Regions from separate parts of the Homo sapiens genome. Here all the other regions are linked to region 6. The links are contacts of gene promoters, found by promoter capture Hi-C in blood cells and fetal thymus (Javierre and others, 2016). All regions are on one chromosome and are shown on one strand. The core of a region is centred on a gene start or on the middle of the fragment in contact, and the rest is flanking DNA. Distances in the headings are between cores, read along the strand shown.

The links. Contacts are between HindIII fragments. The CHiCAGO score rates a contact against its expected background, and 5 or more counts as called.
Region 1: a contact is called between a fragment that was not itself captured here and the fragment with the promoter of ICA1 in region 6, in 1 of 17 cell types (naive B cells). The highest score is 5.7, in naive B cells.
Region 2: a fragment that was not itself captured here is called in contact with the fragment with the promoter of ICA1 in region 6 in 6 of 17 cell types (total B cells, fetal thymus, M0 macrophages and 3 more); the score reaches 10.7 in total B cells.
Region 3: a fragment that was not itself captured here is called in contact with the fragment with the promoter of ICA1 in region 6 in 3 of 17 cell types (erythroblasts, fetal thymus and M0 macrophages); the score reaches 6.4 in erythroblasts.
Region 4: a contact is called between a fragment that was not itself captured here and the fragment with the promoter of ICA1 in region 6, in 1 of 17 cell types (erythroblasts). The highest score is 9.1, in erythroblasts.
Region 5: the fragment with the promoter of RPA3 here is called in contact with the fragment with the promoter of ICA1 in region 6 in 14 of 17 cell types (M2 macrophages, neutrophils, total CD4 T cells and 11 more); the score reaches 11.7 in M2 macrophages.
Region 7: a contact is called between a fragment that was not itself captured here and the fragment with the promoter of ICA1 in region 6, in 1 of 17 cell types (fetal thymus). The highest score is 5.6, in fetal thymus.

The regions. Positions count from the first base shown.
Region 1 is chr7:7,519,815-7,522,514 of GRCh38, forward strand. It overlaps COL28A1 (collagen type XXVIII alpha 1 chain), which reads right to left. Exons shown (of 35, transcript NM_001037763.3): 5 at 2,091-2,147; 6 at 248-301. Among named protein-coding and RNA genes, the nearest start is that of COL28A1, 15 kb to the right of the region's middle. The HindIII fragment of the contact is 906 bases long and covers 838-1,743 here.
Region 2 is chr7:7,537,581-7,540,338 of GRCh38, forward strand. It overlaps a transcript of COL28A1 not described here. Among named protein-coding and RNA genes, the nearest start is that of COL28A1, 3.1 kb to the left of the region's middle. The HindIII fragment of the contact is 197 bases long and covers 1,229-1,425 here.
Region 3 is chr7:7,615,762-7,618,542 of GRCh38, forward strand. No RefSeq gene overlaps it. Among named protein-coding and RNA genes, the nearest start is that of UMAD1, 24 kb to the right of the region's middle. The HindIII fragment of the contact is 5,558 bases long and covers 1-2,781 here.
Region 4 is chr7:7,599,220-7,601,919 of GRCh38, forward strand. The region is part of intron 11 of MIOS (meiosis regulator for oocyte development); the gene reads left to right. Among named protein-coding and RNA genes, the nearest start is that of MIOS, 34 kb to the left of the region's middle. The HindIII fragment of the contact is 2,383 bases long and covers 260-2,642 here.
Region 5 is chr7:7,717,020-7,719,904 of GRCh38, forward strand. RPA3 (replication protein A3) reads right to left here and starts at 1,588. Exons shown (of 8, transcript NM_002947.5): 1 at 1,496-1,588. All of the region lies in intron 2 of UMAD1 (UBAP1-MVB12-associated (UMA) domain containing 1), which reads left to right. The HindIII fragment of the contact is 2,432 bases long and covers 1-1,887 here.
Region 6 is chr7:8,260,746-8,263,445 of GRCh38, forward strand. It overlaps ICA1 (islet cell autoantigen 1), which reads right to left and starts at 1,422. Exons shown (of 14, transcript NM_001136020.3): 1 at 1,349-1,422. It overlaps ICA1-AS1 (ICA1 antisense RNA 1), which reads left to right and starts at 1,480. Exons shown (of 6, transcript NR_125740.1): 1 at 1,480-1,674; 2 at 1,835-2,081. The HindIII fragment of the contact is 9,065 bases long and covers 1-2,700 here.
Region 7 is chr7:7,448,481-7,451,336 of GRCh38, forward strand. The region is part of intron 18 of COL28A1 (collagen type XXVIII alpha 1 chain); the gene reads right to left. Among named protein-coding and RNA genes, the nearest start is that of COL28A1, 86 kb to the right of the region's middle. The HindIII fragment of the contact is 732 bases long and covers 918-1,649 here.

The DNA of each region.
Region 1 (2,700 bases), core at 41-2,540, 740 kb before region 6:
TTATTCAATGTCCCTAGGTTTCCTAAACTTACTGACTAAAATGTTCATATATGTTACTCAGAATTTGTGAATTCAAGCTAATAGAAATAAGATAGATAATATAGGAAGTGGAAATCCTGTATTCTTCACAAAAGTTGTCACATTTTTGCCATATACTACAATGCTTTTTATTTTTAAAATTGTTGTTTTAAAAAAAAAGTCTAGAAGGAGATACGCTGGTTTAAAGAAAAGCTGTTTATTCATTTACCGGGTTTCCTTTTGGTCCTCGCTCACCTTTGATACCTGGATTTCCATGTGTACCCTGAAGGCAAAGGGAAAAAATATTATTTTAAGTAGGAATTCTATTGTTTTCTATACTTTATAATAATTTCTGATCAGTTTTGTTTCCTAGAATGAGGGAGAATTGTAAAACCTTTACCTGCCAAGCAGAAATTCAATTCTCTTCTCCCTTTTTCTACACCAGGAAAACCACTGTCTTGAATTGGCAGATTTTCTAGATTTGCTCAAAAGAGAATAATGTTTCTCTCTTCCCACCAATTACTTCTTCCCAAAACAATCACTTCTCAGCAGTTTTGCAAACAAAATCAAACTCATGCAAAGATTTAAAAGAGTAGCTGCAACAGGCAGAAGGATAGGAGTTGTTCCCAATCTCTCTTCATTGTGGGTCACTTCTACGATTCCCTCTGTCACTCACTTTTAAAAGGACCAAGCTAGCTTGCTTGCCTTTGGTCAAAGAGGTTCTGATATCCAGGAGACAATCTCAAAAGATGGGAGAAAGGAGCTCTGTAATCCTGTTCCAGAAAAGCATTTTGTTTTCCTGTTCCTAATCAACCAGAAAGCTTGCTTTTCTGAGAAATGGTGTTGGGGGTACTCGATAATGTTAAATAACATATTCTGTGGCTTATCCCTACTAAAATGTGACAAGAATGTGACTAAAATTGTCAGGTGCTTAGCAATTGTGAGCTTTCTTATTGCTCATTTTAAAATATAAAGAAATATTTCTTACCCTGGCCATCTCTTGGTGTCATAGAGATAAACGAAGACTTTATAGGAAGGGATGGCTAAACCTTTGCTTTAGCCAAAGTCAGCTTCTACTGGCTGCCCCACTATCATATAACGCATCTAACTTTGTATTTGGGGAGAAAAACATCCCTTGATTGGTAGGATGGTTTGAAAAATTGTAGGCTTTGGACCCGAGTCTCAAGGTAAAATTTGTCACATTCTAATTCATTCACAGTACACATTCCCCTCCCACCCCCAAATACAAGCATTAGTTGAAAATTTTTATCCATGCATTTTGTGAGATTCTCCATAGGGCTTCTTCTGAACTCTAAGGATGATATTTGGAATTATACAAATAAATAGAAGACTGAATGAGCACGTGAATGCTTTATGAAGATAAATGTTAAAAAAATGCTCAGCATTTCCAGTGATCTAGATGTCATTTCAAATGCCTTCCCAGTACAGACATGGCACCTACCAGTTATTAGGCCAGAATATAAAGAAAGCACTCCTTCCTGGATTATCTTATCAAACAATGAATCATCATAGTCAATCCTGCCATTTATTTTTGGTTGCCATGTGCTTACTTCCATTTCACAGAACTCACCCTAATCCCCCAAAGCATCGTGACCAGCTTCCTGTCCATGAGGCCACACGGTGTTGCTGCTGCACTGCTGCATTCGTGTGAAGCCAACATTTAACTTTCAGAGAGGCTTGTACTCCATGTTTCTAGTAGGATAAAGCTTTGCTTAAAGCACTGATTATTTGTATTAGCTTTTTCTGTATTCACTTCACTATTGAGAAATTCTGGCTTCAATTATTTTATGAGGAGGAATATAAATGTCCTTTGTGGGAACAACTTCAAAACACACCTGCCCTCAGTTCAGGTCAGTAAAATCCCAGGCTTATTTCTAAGGATAGAATGTGTCCCTTTAGAAATAAAAGAAAGAAGTAGCATTTCCATTTTTCCTCCCATTTCCAAACAATTGCTTTTCAGCAGTGCAAAATAGCCCCGATGTTTTCAAGAGCGAGTAGAGCTATCATTGCTAGGACTTTCTGACTTAAGTTCAAAGTGGAAGTATACTCACAGGAGGCCCTGGATCACCTGGATCTCCCTTCTCACATTCACAAATCTTGCGTTCACACTGAATCAATAATGAAATATGATATTAACACACAGTGAAATTCAAATTGTATGCAGCATTTCAAATTGTATTTCAAATACATTTCAAAGTGTATTTCAAATAAATTTCAAATAGCATTTCAAATTGTATTCAGTATATAACCAACTGGAGCACTCTCAAAGAAATTTTACCTTGCACATTTATGGATGTTTTGCTCTCTCTATTAAATTATTCCAGGCAAATTTATACCTACCAAGAGCTAGCTAACAAAATATTATTAAATTTCAGCATAGTTAAATAAAAGACATCCCATCAAAAATACATGTATAATATATAGATGCCAGTTAAAAGGAGAAAATAAATATTTTCAGTGGACTTTTAGAATTTCTGATCCTTCTCTTCTATATAACACATCAAAGCTCAATAATATAATAATATTAAATGCTCCTTTACTAGGCAAAGGAAAACATTTGACTTATAGCATATTTTACTAATTGTAAGATAATTGTAAGATGCACCTTCTTCCTCATTTTAACAACTCTGAAATCAGAATGAGTCTTATAACAGCTGTTGA
Region 2 (2,758 bases), core at 77-2,576, 720 kb before region 6:
TTTAACTCAGGCTGGTAAGACCTGTGAGCCTCACTTATAACAACTACTGCATCATTAAGTATCTATGCGAACGTCTGTGTTTTCACTGTCTCCTCCTCACAAAACAGGTTTCGAGGAACTGAGGAAGTTTTGTGAGGCTTTGGTAACAGAAAGAAGAAACGGTGGGTATAATGCAGAAATAACAACGGAATTTCCTAGGGAACAACCATGTATTTACCTGATAGCCTATGGGTGTTAGTCACACTTTTTACTTTTGTAAGATGAGAATCAAGAGACAAGGAAGTAGCATCTTTTCAGGTCAACTCTCTTTTTGCTGAGGCAGGTTAAAAACATGCAGAATAATAATGCCACTAAGAAGCAAACAGGTGATTCCTAGATGGGGGAAATGGACTAAAGCCCTCCTGCCTTGGAGCTGTTTTGATTAAAGTTGGTGGGAGGTTGGAGTCCAACTTAGTCATCCATTCCCTTTCATTCTCCAACATTAAATAGGGTAACTCAAACCAAAGATTTGCCACCTCTCATTCTCAAGCGTGAAAATCAGCACTAAATTAATTGGGAAGATTATGCAAAATAAAATCTTCAGTTTCATCAATCTATAAAAGACAATTAGTTTTGCACCCAGAGAAACAATGCACCACAATCTTAATCCCAACAGATGGTCTTGAATTAGTATGCTATTGGACTTACACCAGAACAAATAAGAGAGCATGGATAACCATAATGACTAGAAAAAGGCAACGTGGAGCCCATGCCCTTCTGACAGTTATTTTGTAGTAAAAGTCTTTATGGAAGAAATATAGCACACTATTTTCATTGTTACTACTATAAATAGCCCAGAGTAAGCAGTCATATTTGTGAAATAAATGATTATTAGAAGTAATTTTTAGTGTTTATCAGTCACTTGAGGTCTGTGATACAATAAATTGCTCTTCTCCAAAGCTCTGCTAGATGAAAATCTTTTTTCAACTTTTTCAAATTCTTTTAATATGCTACCATAGTAGCATCTGCATTGTGTTTATTGATTCTAGTACCAGTGCCAACATCTTAATTTCAGTGGTGATGATATTTTGGGGTCCTAGAATCATTTAAAAAGAGACAAGTCTGCTAGGACTTACATATTTCAGAGAATTGTATCTGCATGAAGTCATAGAAATACACACAAAAAAAGGCTGGTAACAAATCAAAGTTATATATTTTGACCAAGATTAAGGCATAGTATAGTTTCACAAGCTTCTCCCTATTTTAGCCACCTCCCACACTGCTGATCTAGAGTAGAAAAAAAAAAACATTACCAACTAACAAGGAAGAAATTAATGACCTTCGTACCTGATTTGAAGAAATTTGTTCTTGAAGATCCTTTCCTTTCTTTCTTTCTTTTTTTCTTTTTCTTTCTTTCTTTCTCTTTCTTCTTTTTGTCAGTAGAAAAGCTTGATATAGTAGAATTTCTAACACCTGCCCCAAAGCTCTGAAATTTCTGGGATTCATTATCCTTGGACCCAGAATATGACCTAGGCATTCTCTCAACTCCTTCATCAGTAATTAGAGGAACACTGTCTTAGTCCATTTTGTGTTGCTATAAAGGAATACCTAAGGCTGAGTAATCTATAAAGAAAAGAGGTTTATTTGGCTTACAATTCTGCAGTCTATGCAAGAAGCATGACACCAGCATCTGCTTCTGGTGAGGGCCATTGACTGCTTCTACTCATGGCAGAAGGTGAAAGGGGACCAGCGTGTGCAGATCATATGGTAAGAGGGAGCAAGAGAGCAGGGAGAGAGGTGTCAGACTCTTTTAAAGAATCAGCTCCCCCAGGAACTAATACAGAGAGAACACACTCATTACCGCAAGGATGGCATTAAGTCATTCATAAGGGATCCACCCACATGACCCAAACGTTTCCCATCAGGCCCCACTTCCAACAGTGGGGATGAAATTTCAACACGAGGTTTGGAGGGGGCAAATATGCAAACCATGGCAAACACCAAAACTGTATTGGTCTTATTTGTCAACAAAGGGAAAGATTAAAAGCATTCAAAGACAATAAGAAAATAAAAATTATCATTGGTAATAAAATACAGGATGTGGCATTGCTTAAATGTGGAACAGCGTGACTTCAGTTCCTATGCCCTCACCAAATTCTGATTGAGTTGATCCTTCCACATTCCCTCTACTATTTTTCAATTGTTACTATTATTTAATAAACTTTATGGTTTAGAGCAGTTTCGGGGTACAGCAACACGGACTCAATTATCTTTTATATCGTTTACTCCCTAAGATCTCTTGCTTCATTATTTGTCATTCAATCCCCAGCTTGAATAATTGTGTCACATTTGCAACACACAGTGCCTCATAGGCTACAGTGACAGGCTAAATTCCCGTTATACCAATCTTATGACTATTAATCTCTTTCTCTAAAATATTTTTTCAATATTAATATTTCTTCTTTCCATGTTGTTTATTCCTGACTAAATGCAATTATTTTAGACCAAAAATAAATCAAGGTGCCATCTGGAAAGTTTTACAATTTTTTTTCTAAGAAATATCTGAAAGTAGATTGATCTAGTCCTATCATAGGTTTGAATGTTCAATATTTTTCTTTAATTATTTTCTTTGGTCAATGGATAGAGCAGTTTTAACTTTTTCATGCAGAGCCTACAAATAGAGAAAGATCAGATCTATTTATACCTTGACTAAACTCTGCTTTAAATGGCAAAATATTTCTATTTTTCACTTAGTTCATTTTACTTTCAGATATTAGAC
Region 3 (2,781 bases), core at 220-2,719, 640 kb before region 6:
TAACATTGATTAATGTAGATAGCTGAGACTTACTTGTATTTTGAAAAATGGGAAGAAAATGGTCATGGTAAGAAGCACTGGGTGATAAGAAAAACACATAGTAACAAGATTTCTACATGTGAGCCAATAGCAAACTTCCTCTATGTGTTAAAATTCTCCAATGAGAAATACAGCAACTCGTTTCAGACACCATGAGATGGACAGGTTAGGCCAAGTTGTGCTTGACCTAGTGGTGAATGACCACACACTTCTTTACCTTTGGCACAAGTGGTTCATCAATCTCCCACTTTCCCTCAGATCCTTTTTCAGCGTAGTATTCTAGGCACCAACTGCCAACTGGCCAGTGTTCACCTGTTTGTCATTTTCAGCTTAACTACCAATTTGGACAATTGGAGAGGTATTCGAACCGGATGGTAAAGCTGAAATTAGATCTCAAGTCTCTTCACTGAAGTCTAGTACTCTTATATTTCATAGACAATGAACTGGACCAGATGAATTCTTCTGTTAGTATGATGTATATCATATGAACTTCCAATAATTTTAAAGCTAACTTTTTATTATAAAAATGATACAGGCTCATGGTAAAGTCACTGTGGGAAACAGTATGGTGTTTCTTCAAAAAATTAAAAATAAAATTACCAGGCAGATGTGGTGGCTCACACCTGTAATCCCAGCACTTGGAGAGGCCATGGTGGGAGGATTGCTTGAGCCTAGGAGTTCAAGACCAGCCTGGGCAACACAGCGAGGTCCCAACTCTACAAAAACAAATTCCAAAAATTAGTTGGGCATGGTGGAGCATACCTGTAGTCTCGGCTGAAGCAGAAGGATCACTTGAGCCCAGGAGTTCAAGGCTTCAACAAGCCATGCTTGTGCCAATGCACTCCAGCCTGCGTGATAGAGTGAGACCCTGTCTCAAAAAAAAAGAAAAAAAAAGAAAGAAAAAGGAATTACCATATGATCCAGCAATTGCACTTCTGGGTATATACTTAAAATAATTGAAAGCAATCTTTTGAAATGGTCTCAAAGAGTTATTTGTGTACCAATATTTATAGCAGCATTATTCACGATAGTTAAAATGTGAAAGCAACTCAAGTGTCCTGGACAGATGAATAAGGAAAATGTGGTATACATATTCAAAGCAATATTATTCAGCCTTATAAAGAAAGGAGCTGGATATGGTGGCTCACGCCTGAAATCCCGACACTTTGGGTGGCTGAGGTAGGAGGATTGCTTGAGGCTGGGAGTTCAAGAAGAGCCTGGGCAACATGGTGAGATCCCATGTCTACACAAAATACAAAACTGGGCCAGACATGGTGGCACATGCCTGTAGTCTTAGCTACTCGGGAGGCTGAGGTGGAAGGATTGCTTGAACCTGAGAGGTGAAAGCTGCAGTGAGCTATGATCACACCACTGCAATACAGCCTGAGTGACAGATTAAGACCCTGACAAAAAAAAAAAAGGAAATTCTGATATGCTGAAACATGAATAAATTTTGAGGATATTATGCTAAGCAAAATAATCTAACCAAAAAGACAAATACTTTATGATTCCACCTGTATAAGGTACTTAGATTGGTCAAAATCATAGAAAGAGAAAATAGAAAGGTGGTAGCCAGAGACTAGAGGGGAGGGAATGGGGAGTTACTGTTTAATGGATACTGAGTTTCAGTTTTACACAATGAAATGAGTTTTGGAGATGGATGGTGGTGATAGTTGCACATAATTATGAATGTATTTAATATCATTGAATTGTATGCTTAAAAAAGGTTAAGTTGGTAAATTTTATATTATACGTATTTTGCCACAATAAAAAATTGGGAAAAAATGCAGGCTTATCACAAGAAAAAAAAATTACATAAAGTATAAAGTGGAAGTAAATATCTTCTTAGCAGTTTGCCCCATTATCTTCCTGCTCTATGTGTCACCTCCCTAAACGCCAACTCTCACTTTCTAGGAAAAGCTGCTTTAAAGTCTGTACACATGTAAGGAAATGTTCTTTACATAAACCACATCTGGCTGTGTTTGTCTGCGTTCATCTTTGCCTCTCTCTCTTTGCCTGGATAAGATCATACTGCATAAACTCTCCTCTAATGGTTTTTTCCTATCTAAAATATGTATTTTGAAGAGTTTCCCTTATTAGCCTATATATATCTAATTTTTAAAAACTGACTGAATGGTGTGTGATTAGATGTCTATATCTCCCATTGATAGAAATGTAGGGTATTTCCATTCGTTTTTACAAATGATACTGCAGTGAGCATCTTTGAGTATAAATCTTTGGGTACTTGTGAGTGAGTTAATTTCTCAGATAAATTAGGTGGAATTATGAGCCAAAAGTTATGTGTATTTTACATTTTGATAGATATTGACAAATAGCCCTCCAAAAGTTGAACTAATTATCTCCCTATAAACTAAACAGCATAGGAAAGTGCCTGTTTTCCCAACACCTTCAACGCTAAGCATTATAAAATTTCTACTTATAGCCATGTAGTAGATGAAAATATTGAAAATATTTTAATTTACATATATTCAATTCTGAATGAGGTTAAACATAGATTTTATATGACTATTCACTGTTTGTATTTATTTACAATGCACTGCTTGTTCATTTCCATGCTCAATTTTAATGGTGTTTACTTTGAGGAAAAAAAAACACCTATATGGAAAAGCCCTGAATTATATGTAATTCCCTCTTTCTACACCTTTTCTGCTATAATTTGAAAGTTAGCTTTGGTCAGTTTTTTCACTGTCACTGTTTCTTTCCTCCCTCTCCTCCCTCTCC
Region 4 (2,700 bases), core at 201-2,700, 660 kb before region 6:
TGAGGCTATTAAGATATTTATTTCTCTTATTTATTAGTGAATATTCATCTTTCACTACAGAAATACTAACGAGTTTGATTACAGGGTGCTTTAGACTTCCCTCAAGGTGTACATATTTGCTACTTTTTTCTAAAATCCCAAACATCCTGGATTCTGAAACACATCTAAACCCCCAACATGAATTAGGACTATTATATAAGGAAAGAATTAGGAATTTTGAAAGTGGGAAATATTACTTCTATCTGAAGGATATCTGGAAAGCTTTAGGAGGAAGTTACCATTTAAGCCAGTCCTTTAAAGTTTGGTAGATTTAATATATGAAGATTGCAGGGAAGCCGTCCAGGTTGCAGACCAAGTGTAAAAAACATGAACTAGGGTGAAGAGATTGGTAAGTATTATGATAAGTACAGGGGGTGTTTGGGAAGAGCAAGTGTATTGTTGTGAAAGGACCTAGGAAGTGAACTGATAAGAAACAGTAGGAAAATTAGGGAGAGCCTGAATATGATCTTTAAAGGCATTGCTGAGCTAAGTTAGAGAATAATCACTCTTTATAATAGCAAAGACATAAAATCAACTTCAATGCCCATCAGTGGTGGACTGGATAAAGAAATGTGGTACATACACAGCATAGAATACTATGCAGCCATGTCTTTTGCAGCAGCATGGATAGAGCTGGAGGCCATTATCCTAAGCAAACTAACACAGGAACAGAAAACCAAATACCACATGTTATAAGTAGGAGCTAAACATTGAGAACATATGGTCATAAAGAAGGAATAACAGACACCAGGGCTTACTGGAGGGTGCTAGGTGGGAGGAGGATCGAAAAACTACCTGTCGGGTACTATGTTTATTACCTGGATGATGAAATAATCCGTACACCAAAACCCCCATGACACGCAATTTACCTGTATAACAAACCTGCACATGTACCCCTGAAACTAAAGTAAAAGTTTAAAAAAAAGAAAAAGAAGCAAATTATTTTTTTTTGGCATGTGAAATCAGAAAAGTCCATTTCCAAAGTAAAACAGGATCTAATAGAAATCAAGTGCTGGATAATTGGATAAAGAGTCAAGACCCATCAGTGTGCTGTATTCAGGAAACCCGTCTCACGTGCAGAGACACACATAGGCTCAAAATAAAGGGATGGAGGAAGATCTACCAAGCAAATGGAAAACAAAAAAAGGCAGGCGTTGCAATCCTGATCTCAGATAAAACAGAGTTTAAACCAACAAAGATCAAAAGAGACAAGGCCATTACATAATGGTAAAGGGATCAGTTCAACACGAAGAACTAACTATCCTAAATATATATGCACCCAATACAGGAGCACCCAGATTCATAAAGCAAGTCCTTAGTGACCTACAAAGAGACTTAGACTCCCACACAATAATAATGGGAGACTTTAACACCCCACTGTCAACATTAGACAGATCAACGAGGCAGAAAGTGAACAAGGATATCCAGGAATTGAACTCCGCTCTGCACCAAGCGGACCTAATAGACATCTACAGAACTCTCCACCCCAAATCAACAGCATATACATTCTTTTCAGCACCACACCACACCTTTTCCAAAATTGACCACATAGTTGGAAGTAAAGCACTCCTCAGCAAATGTAAAAGAACAGAAATTATAACAAACTGTCTCTCAGACCACAGTGCAATCAAACTAGAACTCAGGATTAAGACATTCACTCCAAACCGCTCAACTACATGGAAACTGAACAACGTGCTCCTGAATGACTACTGGGTACATAACGAAATGAAGGCAGAAATAAAGATGTTCTTTGAAACCAACGAGAACAAAGACACAACATACCAGAATCTCTGGGACACATTCAAAGCAGTGTTTAGAGGGAAATTTATAGCACTAAATGCCCACGAGAGTAAGCAGGAAAGATCTAAAATTGACACCCTAACATCACAATTGAAAGAACTAGAGAAGCAAGAGCAAACACATTGAAAAGCTAGCAAAAGGCAAGAAATAACTAAGATCAGAGCAGAACTGAAGGAAATAGAGACACAAAAGACCCTTCAAAAAATCAATGAATCCAGGAGCTGGTTTTTTTTTTGAAAAGATCAACAAAATTGATAGACTGCTAGCAAGACTAATAAAGAAGAAAAGAGAGAAAAATCAAATAGACGCAATAAAAAATGACAAAGGGGATATCACCACCGATCCCACAGAAATACAAACTACCATCAGAGAATACCATAAACACCTCTATGCAAATAAACTAGAAAATCTAGAAGAAATGGATAAATTCCTGGACACATACACCCTCCCAAGACTAAACCAGGAAGAAGTTGAATCTCTGAATAGACCAATAACAGGATCTGAAATTGAGGCAATCCTTAATAGCTTACCAACCAAAAAAAGTCCAGGACCAGATGGATTCACAGCCGAACTCTACCAGAGGTACAAGGAGGAGCTGGTACCATTCCTTCTGAAACTATTCCAATCAATAGAAAAAGAGGGAATCCTCCCCAACTCATTTTATGAGGCCAGCATCATCCTGATACCAAAGACTGGCAGAGACACAACAAAAAAAGAGAATTTTAGGCCAATATCCTTGATGAACATTGATGCAAAAATCCTCAATAAAATACTGGCAAACCAAATCCAGCAACACATCAAAAAGCTTATCCACCATGATCAAGTGGGCTTCATCCCTGGGATGCAAGGCTGGTTCAACAT
Region 5 (2,885 bases), core at 338-2,837, 540 kb before region 6:
CTTTCCTCTTTCTTTTTCCTTTTTCTTTCTTTCTTTTTTTCTTTTTTTTTTTTTTGAGACGGAGTCTTGGTCTGTTGCCCAGGCTGGAGTGCAATGGCATGATCTTGGCTCACTGCAACCTCCGTCTCCCGGGTTCAAGCGATTCTCTCACCTCTGCCTCCCGCGTAGCTGGGACTACCGGTATGCGCCACCACGCCCAGCTAATTTTCGTATTTTTGGTAGAGACTGGGTTTCACCACGTTGGCCTGGCTGGTCTCGAACTCCTGACCCCAAGTGATCCGCCTGCCTCAGCATCCCAAAGTGCTGGAATTACAGGCATAAGCCACCTCGCCCAGCCTCCTGTTTCTTTCATCTATTAAAACTCCACTCTTAAACTCACTCCTTGTGTGTCCTCGTCCTTCAGTTTCTTTGGCGTGAGACGATAACCTCAGGTATTTACCTCAGACAACTCTGCTACTTCAGAAGTATTTACTTTATTAAATGAATATGATTTATTGTTTTGAAGTAAAATGTTTAAGGTATGCATGTATTTTTTATGATTTCCCACTTTAACTGATTTTTTTATTAAATGAAGAAATGGTCTCAATCACATTGGCTAACATGGCCTCTATTTATTTAATTCATCTGTTTTTCCCACTTTGGGGCATCAACAGCATGGAGTATTTGGAAAACTACTTGTATTTGTAAAGAGTAAAATGCAGTTTAACAAAGAAGTTAGTTTGTCATTGTATAGTTCAGGAACTCTGGCCTGGATGAGAGCATGAGTTTGAAATTTTGTCCTCAAGATTTTGTTTTTATCTTACCATCACCTTTTATGCTTAAGTTTATGATTGGCCATAATTATCAAATTGACACATTATGTCATGTGAAAATCTGTTTACCAAACTTTTCTATTAATAAACTTGATGTTTAATTGTAATATTAAGAGTCACAGAGTGCTGTAGATTCTGTTTGTCATAGTTGTGTAGCTTTTAGAGTTTAGGGAAATCTAGTTTTTAGAATTGACACAATGATTTTTAATTTTAGCAGTGTGTTGAATAACCTGTGATATACCATTCACTTATTAACTTCACATTGTTGTATAATAAGTTATAAATTTTAGATCAGATAAGAAAGTAAAACTGGTATTAATTTGGGAAGAAGAAATTGCAGAACTTGAGTGATTTTTCCAAATAATGTGTCAGCTGTAACTTGAATGTGTTATTTTTATCCCCAAGGGTATTTTGAAATATACTTATGTGAATTTCTTATAGTTTATTTTAACCATAAAACTATTTTGATATTTTTATAATGCCATCGATGATACTGTATGCATAGTGAGGGCATGGGTTGTCTGTTCTTACCACCATATTCCCAGCACTAGCATGGAACAAATGAATAAGAACGGAGTAAAAATGCATAATCTAAACTTGACTATGTGTGTCTTCAAAATAATACCTTTAAGTTATTTTGAAGGAAAAAACTATGTATCCAACAAATTCAAACAGATACTTACAAAATTAAGACGATTGTAAATGTGTGTTGTCCTCCTTCTCATTGTTTTTCACATCCAAAAATGTCCTCTTGGAGCCTCTTATCTGAGTAGCTTCTGTGGATCTGATGATGCTAGGATTTTATTTTTTCTTTTATTTTAAAGTTCTTCTGATTACATCATCTCTTTGTATAGACATCATTCTTGACAGATGGCATTTATTAAATATGGACAGTAGCAGGCAGTTAAAAAGACCTGCATGAGATAGGCAGGAACCTTTCTTTTTTCTTTCTGACTCTCAGAAGCAATACCAGCATTAGCTTTATTTAACTTCTAGATTAATTTAAAAAGAAACCTCTTTAAATTATGACTCAACAGGTACAGGGTGAAGTGGGGGAAATGTATGTGTGTTTTAAAGCTTCCCAAGTGATTTTGACCATCAGTTAAGTTTAGAAACCACTGATTACAATTAATTTCCTTAGAATTTGCTCATATATTTAATTCCAAAGAGGAAGAAAATTGAAATTTTAAAAAACATATGAGTATTTTTGGAGATGACATAACTTTCCTTTTATTGTGTTAAAAAAAGCTTTAAGAACTGTTTTTTTCTGCATTTTTATTAATTATCAAGATTTAGTGATGGTTTAGAGAGCTAAAAACACCTTTAGGGTGAATTCAGAAGATCTAGCAGATACAATGATGAAATATGATCAGCAAGCTTTAGGAGAGGATAACAAATGTGTGATTTTGAAATCTCTTCTATTTGAAACCAATCCAGAGTCTTGAATTTGATCCAGTATATAGTATGCTACAAATGGAAAGATTAAACTGGAGCAATATAATTAGGGTAAGCCATTGCATCTGCACTTGTATCGCAGCAACTGAATTTGAAACCAGCTGCAAAATGGTGACTAATCTCTCTGGCAAGCCCACATGAGAGTGTAGTACAATAAGCCAGCTTCAGCCTCATGAGCACATGTTTCTTCAACTTGCCTCTGAGCAGGTGATGGTGATGATGCAATCTGATTATACTTTTGAATGTATTCTAACCACAGTCAACAGTAGAGTCTCACAAGGGATTTCACAAAAGACTTCAAACCGACTGTATATTTTTCAGAGAGTTGAGCTATAGACAGCCATGGAAAGTAGTAGTTTTTTTTTTCACGTTAGTGACTACTGTACTTTGCAGTACTTTATAATCTTAAGTTTAGGAGGCTTTAGTTTTCATATGTGAACTGAAGATGAGAAGAATAATGTGGAAAGAAAGTACTTGTACTTGGAGCTTTTATTCTGAATTGTTCACAACAACTTACACTGATCAATTAAAATAATTAAATTGTCTAGACTATTTAATTCTGTACAAACAAGAGATGGTAAATCAGTGTACTGTGTTTAAGTGGTACACTAACCTTTC
Region 6 (2,700 bases), core at 172-2,671:
ATATATCTTTGGTTTGAAAACTTACTTAAAAGCATTTTTAGAGAGTGTGTGTTTTAAACAGGGGGTATGAAATTGCATCGGGAGCCTAGATTTCAAACTAAGCATTTCTTATTTCACTCCCTAACCACAGAACAGTTCAGATCTCAGATTCAAACCAGAGGGCCACAGAAACCAATTTGAGATTTTCCGAAGAGACTTCACTGAAACGTATGGACAAAAACATGTTTGCGATGAGTCATATTTTATAGGACCTTAATGGCCAATAAATGCCTTATGTGTCTTTCTTCCTACATTCAGTATCACTCCCAAGCAAGCTGGTGACATATTTTCCAGGCCTTGATAATTTTTATACCGTTACCAGATCTCGGTTACTAAGATTCATGAACAAAACCCTTTCTTGCGCTAATTTTTTAATGCCATCTAAATGAAGAGAACGCGATTCTTTCCAAACTAACTCTCCCCAACCAGGCAGTTAATGCCCTTCGCCAGAATAAGGGCGCGATACTTTTAAGACCCCAAAGAGAAGCTCAGGTGCTTTGGGGGTACTACAAGTAAAAAGACAGTGGGAAAGGTTCCTGGAGAGCCGCTTTGGGGGAAAGGCAGACATAACAACAGGATATGTTCGTTTCTAGAGGAAGCAGGAGCTGCAATAGCCCCGGAGCAGGAAAGGCGGAGTCAGCAGCGCCCAAAGGAAACGGGCGCGCCAGGGTTTGCTGGAACCGGGGTTGCTTAGGGGTTCTCGCCCCGTCTAGTCCGAGACTGCTGAGCACCTCGCCCCCGGGGGACCAAGCTCAGGCCTCCTGGCACTAGTGGTTATAAAGAGGTACCCATATGCTCTCTGCCGCCCCTGCCAAAAAAAGGGCCACGGAGGGGAAGAGAAAAAGCACACACCAGGCGCCGCGGCAGGTGAACTTGTCAACAAGTCAACCCTGGACGCAAGTCCCTGCCCACCAGGGAGCTCGGGGTCCTGGGGCCGGAGCCGCCGGGAAGGCGAGGCGCGCGGTGGGTGGGTGGGGTGGGCTGGCATGGGTGCCGGTGCTCCCAGCGCTGGGGCCGGAGCGCGGAACGCTTCCCTACCGCTCCCCCGGGGCTGACGCACGCTCTCACGGCGCGCGCATCCTCCAGACCTTCCCAGGCCGGAGGGAGGAGGGGAGGGGAAGGGGCTGATGCGGTTCCCGCACCGGGATCCGGGACCCGAGGAGGCGACTCGCCTATCACGCGCCGCCCGCGGAGGGCAGAGAAGGCAGCTCCTACCAGGCGTCCCCGACCGTCCCGGCTGCCGGGCGTCTCCTGCTGCTTCCTGCAGCCCGCCCGGCGCGCCCCCGCCCCGACCCCGGAGGGCAGGTACCTCGGAGCCCCGGCCCCCAGGAGCCTCCCGGCCGCGGTCGGAGCGTCCCTCCGGATCACTCATCCGACGTCAGCGTCAGCCGAAGGCGAGGGAAAGGGGCGGGGGGAGCGCAGGAACCGGCCCTTCCTGCGGCGGCCGCCACCAGCCGGAATAGCAACCGGCGGAGCCCGTGCGCACCGCAGCGCAGCGCAGCGGCCGGGGGGTGCGGGCGCCCTCGCCGCCCGGCTACCTACCGCCGCCTGGGCGCCGCCGCTGCCTCCCTTCCCCGCTTCTACCCTCCAGCAGACGCCCGCCGGAGCGACCCCTCCCAGGGTGACCGGGGGAAGGTGGGTGGCGTTGACCTCACCTTGCTTGGGGAGGGTCGGGGACTCGGGGAGTGAGTTTCTCTCTCTCTACTCCCCGGGGTCTCTCCTCGACCCCCATCTCCTGGGGTATCCCCCGCTCGGATCCGCCGCCCAGAGTGACCCCGCCCCTGCTCTCCGGCAGGTGTTCCACGTGGCCATAGCGTTTGCGTCACAATGACCTGGCGGACAGGTGGGAGCCACAGCGTACACCCCAGGGTTCCCTCTGTGCTGTGCGTAGTGCCTACTGCTTGCTTCCAGGTTAAATTTCTGTAGCTTTAGAGGACAGGAGACTTCATGACTTCACTGCCAAGAAAAGTTACAGAGGCCTGCTGTACCTGGAAATCAAGTTTGAGCTTCGAGAATAAAGGTCATGTTTTAAAAACAGCTGTGTATGTATAGGTATATGTTTTTCATTTCCATATATTTCTGTATCTTTTATTTTTAAGTTATTGCCATTTGTAGCAGTTTCATCTTCTCTTATCCTTTGTCACCAGGAAAGAACCAAACCATTGTTTCTAGAGACCCTGCAGTATACAGATCACAGGAAGAAAAAGTGTTGGCATAGCTGCTTCCTAATATTATCTATGTGGAAATGAAACCTCAATGTAGTATGACTTCATCCCTAGTTATGTTATACATTTATAAATAAGTTCATTCAGTCGTCGCTGAAACAATTTAAAAGGGCCGAATGATAGTTATTGAGTAATGATGCTGACGAATCAGAAATCCTGCGCTAACATGGATGGAGTGCTAGCTCTATGTCCGGCACATGCTGTATGCTTTATATTTAATCCTTACAGCAACCCAATACTGTAGATAAAATCATTATCCCGATTTCACAGATGAAGACACTGCCCAGAGTGCCATAAAGAGATTATTGAGCAGGGATTTGAATCTGAACCAGGAGACTTAGCTTAATCTCAAGATAGCATGGTGTCTTGCCAGAATGGATGGAGAAAAAGTATAGAATATGTTGACATTTTAATAGAAAGATAATAAGATACCTCC
Region 7 (2,856 bases), core at 34-2,533, 810 kb before region 6:
GGAAGTTGATTTGGCAATTTCTTGGAAAGCTAAATGAATACCTACCTTCTGACCTAGCCATTTGACTTCTAGGTGTTTACCCAAGAAAAATAAAAACAAATGTCCATACAAACACATATAAAAATGTTCATTTATAACATTTTATTTATGATAAAATTTATAAAAATTTATAAAATTTATTTAAAATTTTTATTTATAATATTCCAAATCTGGAAAAAAACAAAATTTATACACAGGTGAATGGATAAATAAATTGTGGTATATCCATATAATACAATACTATTCAGCAATACAAAGGAATGAACTGTTCATATATATGCTACAACATGGATCTTAGATTTTGCTGCATTAAAAGAAGCCAGAAAATATCATATAGTATATAATTCCATAAAAATCTAGAAAATGCAAACTAGTCTATGATGACAAAAAACAGATCAATGGTTAGCAGATAATTGGAAAGCAGATCTGTGGGAAGCCTATTAGTGAACATAGAAGAAGTTACAGAGGGATAGAAGGACAGATGGTAACTTCTGAGGGTTACAGAAATATTTATCATCTTGATTGCAGTAATGATTCCAAGGGTATACACATATCTCAAAACATCAAATTGTATACTTTAAACATGTGCATTTATTATATGCCAATCAGATAATACAGTTATTAAAATAAAAGCAAAAATCCTGAATAAAAGATTAGTCAGTTGAATGATCATCATAAAAAAGTACACATAATGAATTGAGTTTATCTCAAGAATGCAAGGATGGTTTGACATCTGAAAACTCTGTAAATGTAATGTATCGTATTAACAAGTTAAAAGTGGAAAACAACACAATTATCTTAGTAGATGCATAATTTGATAAAATCCAGTAATCATTTATATTTAATAAGTAACTTTTGGTACAACCAAAAAAGAAGGAAGCTTCCTTAACCTAATGAAGGGTATCTATCAAAAACTTTCAGCAAACATCACACTTAAGAGTGAAATTTTAGAAGCACTTCTTTTGAAGTCATTTCTTTTAAACATTGTACAAGTGATCCTAGCAGTACAAAATGATAAAAAAAAAATCAAAGAAGAGCTAAAAAATAATAGGCAAAACTTTATATTCAGACAGTATGATTGTGTACATAGGGACTGAAAAAGCAAGAGATTCCACAAACAGATTTCACAGGGTGGCTGGATACAAAATCAACATGCCAAAAAACAAAACAAAACAAAACAAAAAAATTCTCCTATAGACCTATACTAGTTAGTTAAAAGATATAGAAAAAAAATTCACAATTATAAAAATTTCTTCAAGGTATCTGGAAATAAATTTAACTAAAAAAATACAAGACCTTTATGGAGAAAATTACAAATATTTTCTTGAAAAATTACAGCTTTACTCTGTGGTGTGAAAGACTTGCTATTTAATCTGTAGATTTAGTGCAAACCAAATGGGGTATCCTGTTAAATATGACAAGCCAACCCTAAAACATGTATCTTAGAGTCAATAATAACCAAGAAAGAAGATGAGAGTATTTTTCCTTTTAGATGACAAAATATATTATAAACCTATTATAATCAAGACAAGGAGGTAATAGCACTGAGAGATATAAATAGACAAATGGAGTAGAATACACAGCTCAGGCACTGATACTCAAAATATGGAAGCTTCATATATGAAAGAGGTGGTACTGCAAATCAGTGTGGTAAAGATGGACTATTCAACAACTGATTCTGGGGTACTTGTTTATTTATAGTAATAAAAAATAGATCCCTACATTGACCCATACACAAAAATAAATTCCATGTGGGTTAAATCCCTAAATTTTAAAAACAAAACACTAAAATTTTCAGAAAAATGCATAAGAATATCTTTATCAATCTCAGGTCAAGAAATGTTTTAAAATAATATTCAAAAATCACAAATCACAAAGGGATAGAAATATAGAATTTAAAACTTCTGTATACTAAGAAGTACTCTAAGTGAAAAAAATAAGTCAGAGCCTAGGAGAAGATATTTGCAGTTTGTATAACACAGTAAGATATATTTGTACACACTTCATATTTGCACAGATTTAGAGAAAGGAACATCATCGCCTACTGCTAGCAGGAAGGTAAACTGGCACAAGCATTTTGGACAAGATTTTGGTAGTATCACAATTGAAGACTCGCACGCTCTATGATCTTCCCATTCTACCTCTAACTGTCTATCTTCTACAAGTCAAGAAACTTGTCCTCCAACGTGTGCAAAAGGAAACAGAATGTTTGTGGCAGCATTGTTGGCAAAAGCAAAAAGAATGACAAGCAATTTAAATATCCACCATCATGAAGATGAATAAATATAAAATGAGATATTTTCATACAGTGGAATACTATAACGCGATTAATATCAATGAATTAGAGGCATACAAAAACACAAATAAAACATAAGGCTGACTATAAATATATTGCAGAATGATATATCATGTAAAGTTTAAGGACACAAAAAAAGTGATATATGGTTTATGGATAAAAATGTGTGGGAAATTATAAAAACTTCAAAAGAATGATAAACACCAAATTCATAATAATGATTATGTGTGAGGAGAGAAGGGAGGGCAGTGGGATTGGGGAGTGCCAGCAGGGACCTTCAGCCACACCTACAATGTTTCTTTTAAAAAGTCTAGAGTCAGTGTGGTAAAACATTAACATTTGATAAAGCTGGGCCGTGGAATACATAGGTGCTCTTTGTATTATTCTCTGTATGGTGAGTATATTTGAAATACTTCTTTTTTTTTTTTTAAGATGGAGTCTCACTTCGTCGCCAGGCTGGAGTGCAGTGGCGCGATCTCAGCTCACTGCAACCTCCGCCTCCTGAGTTCAAGTGGTTCTCC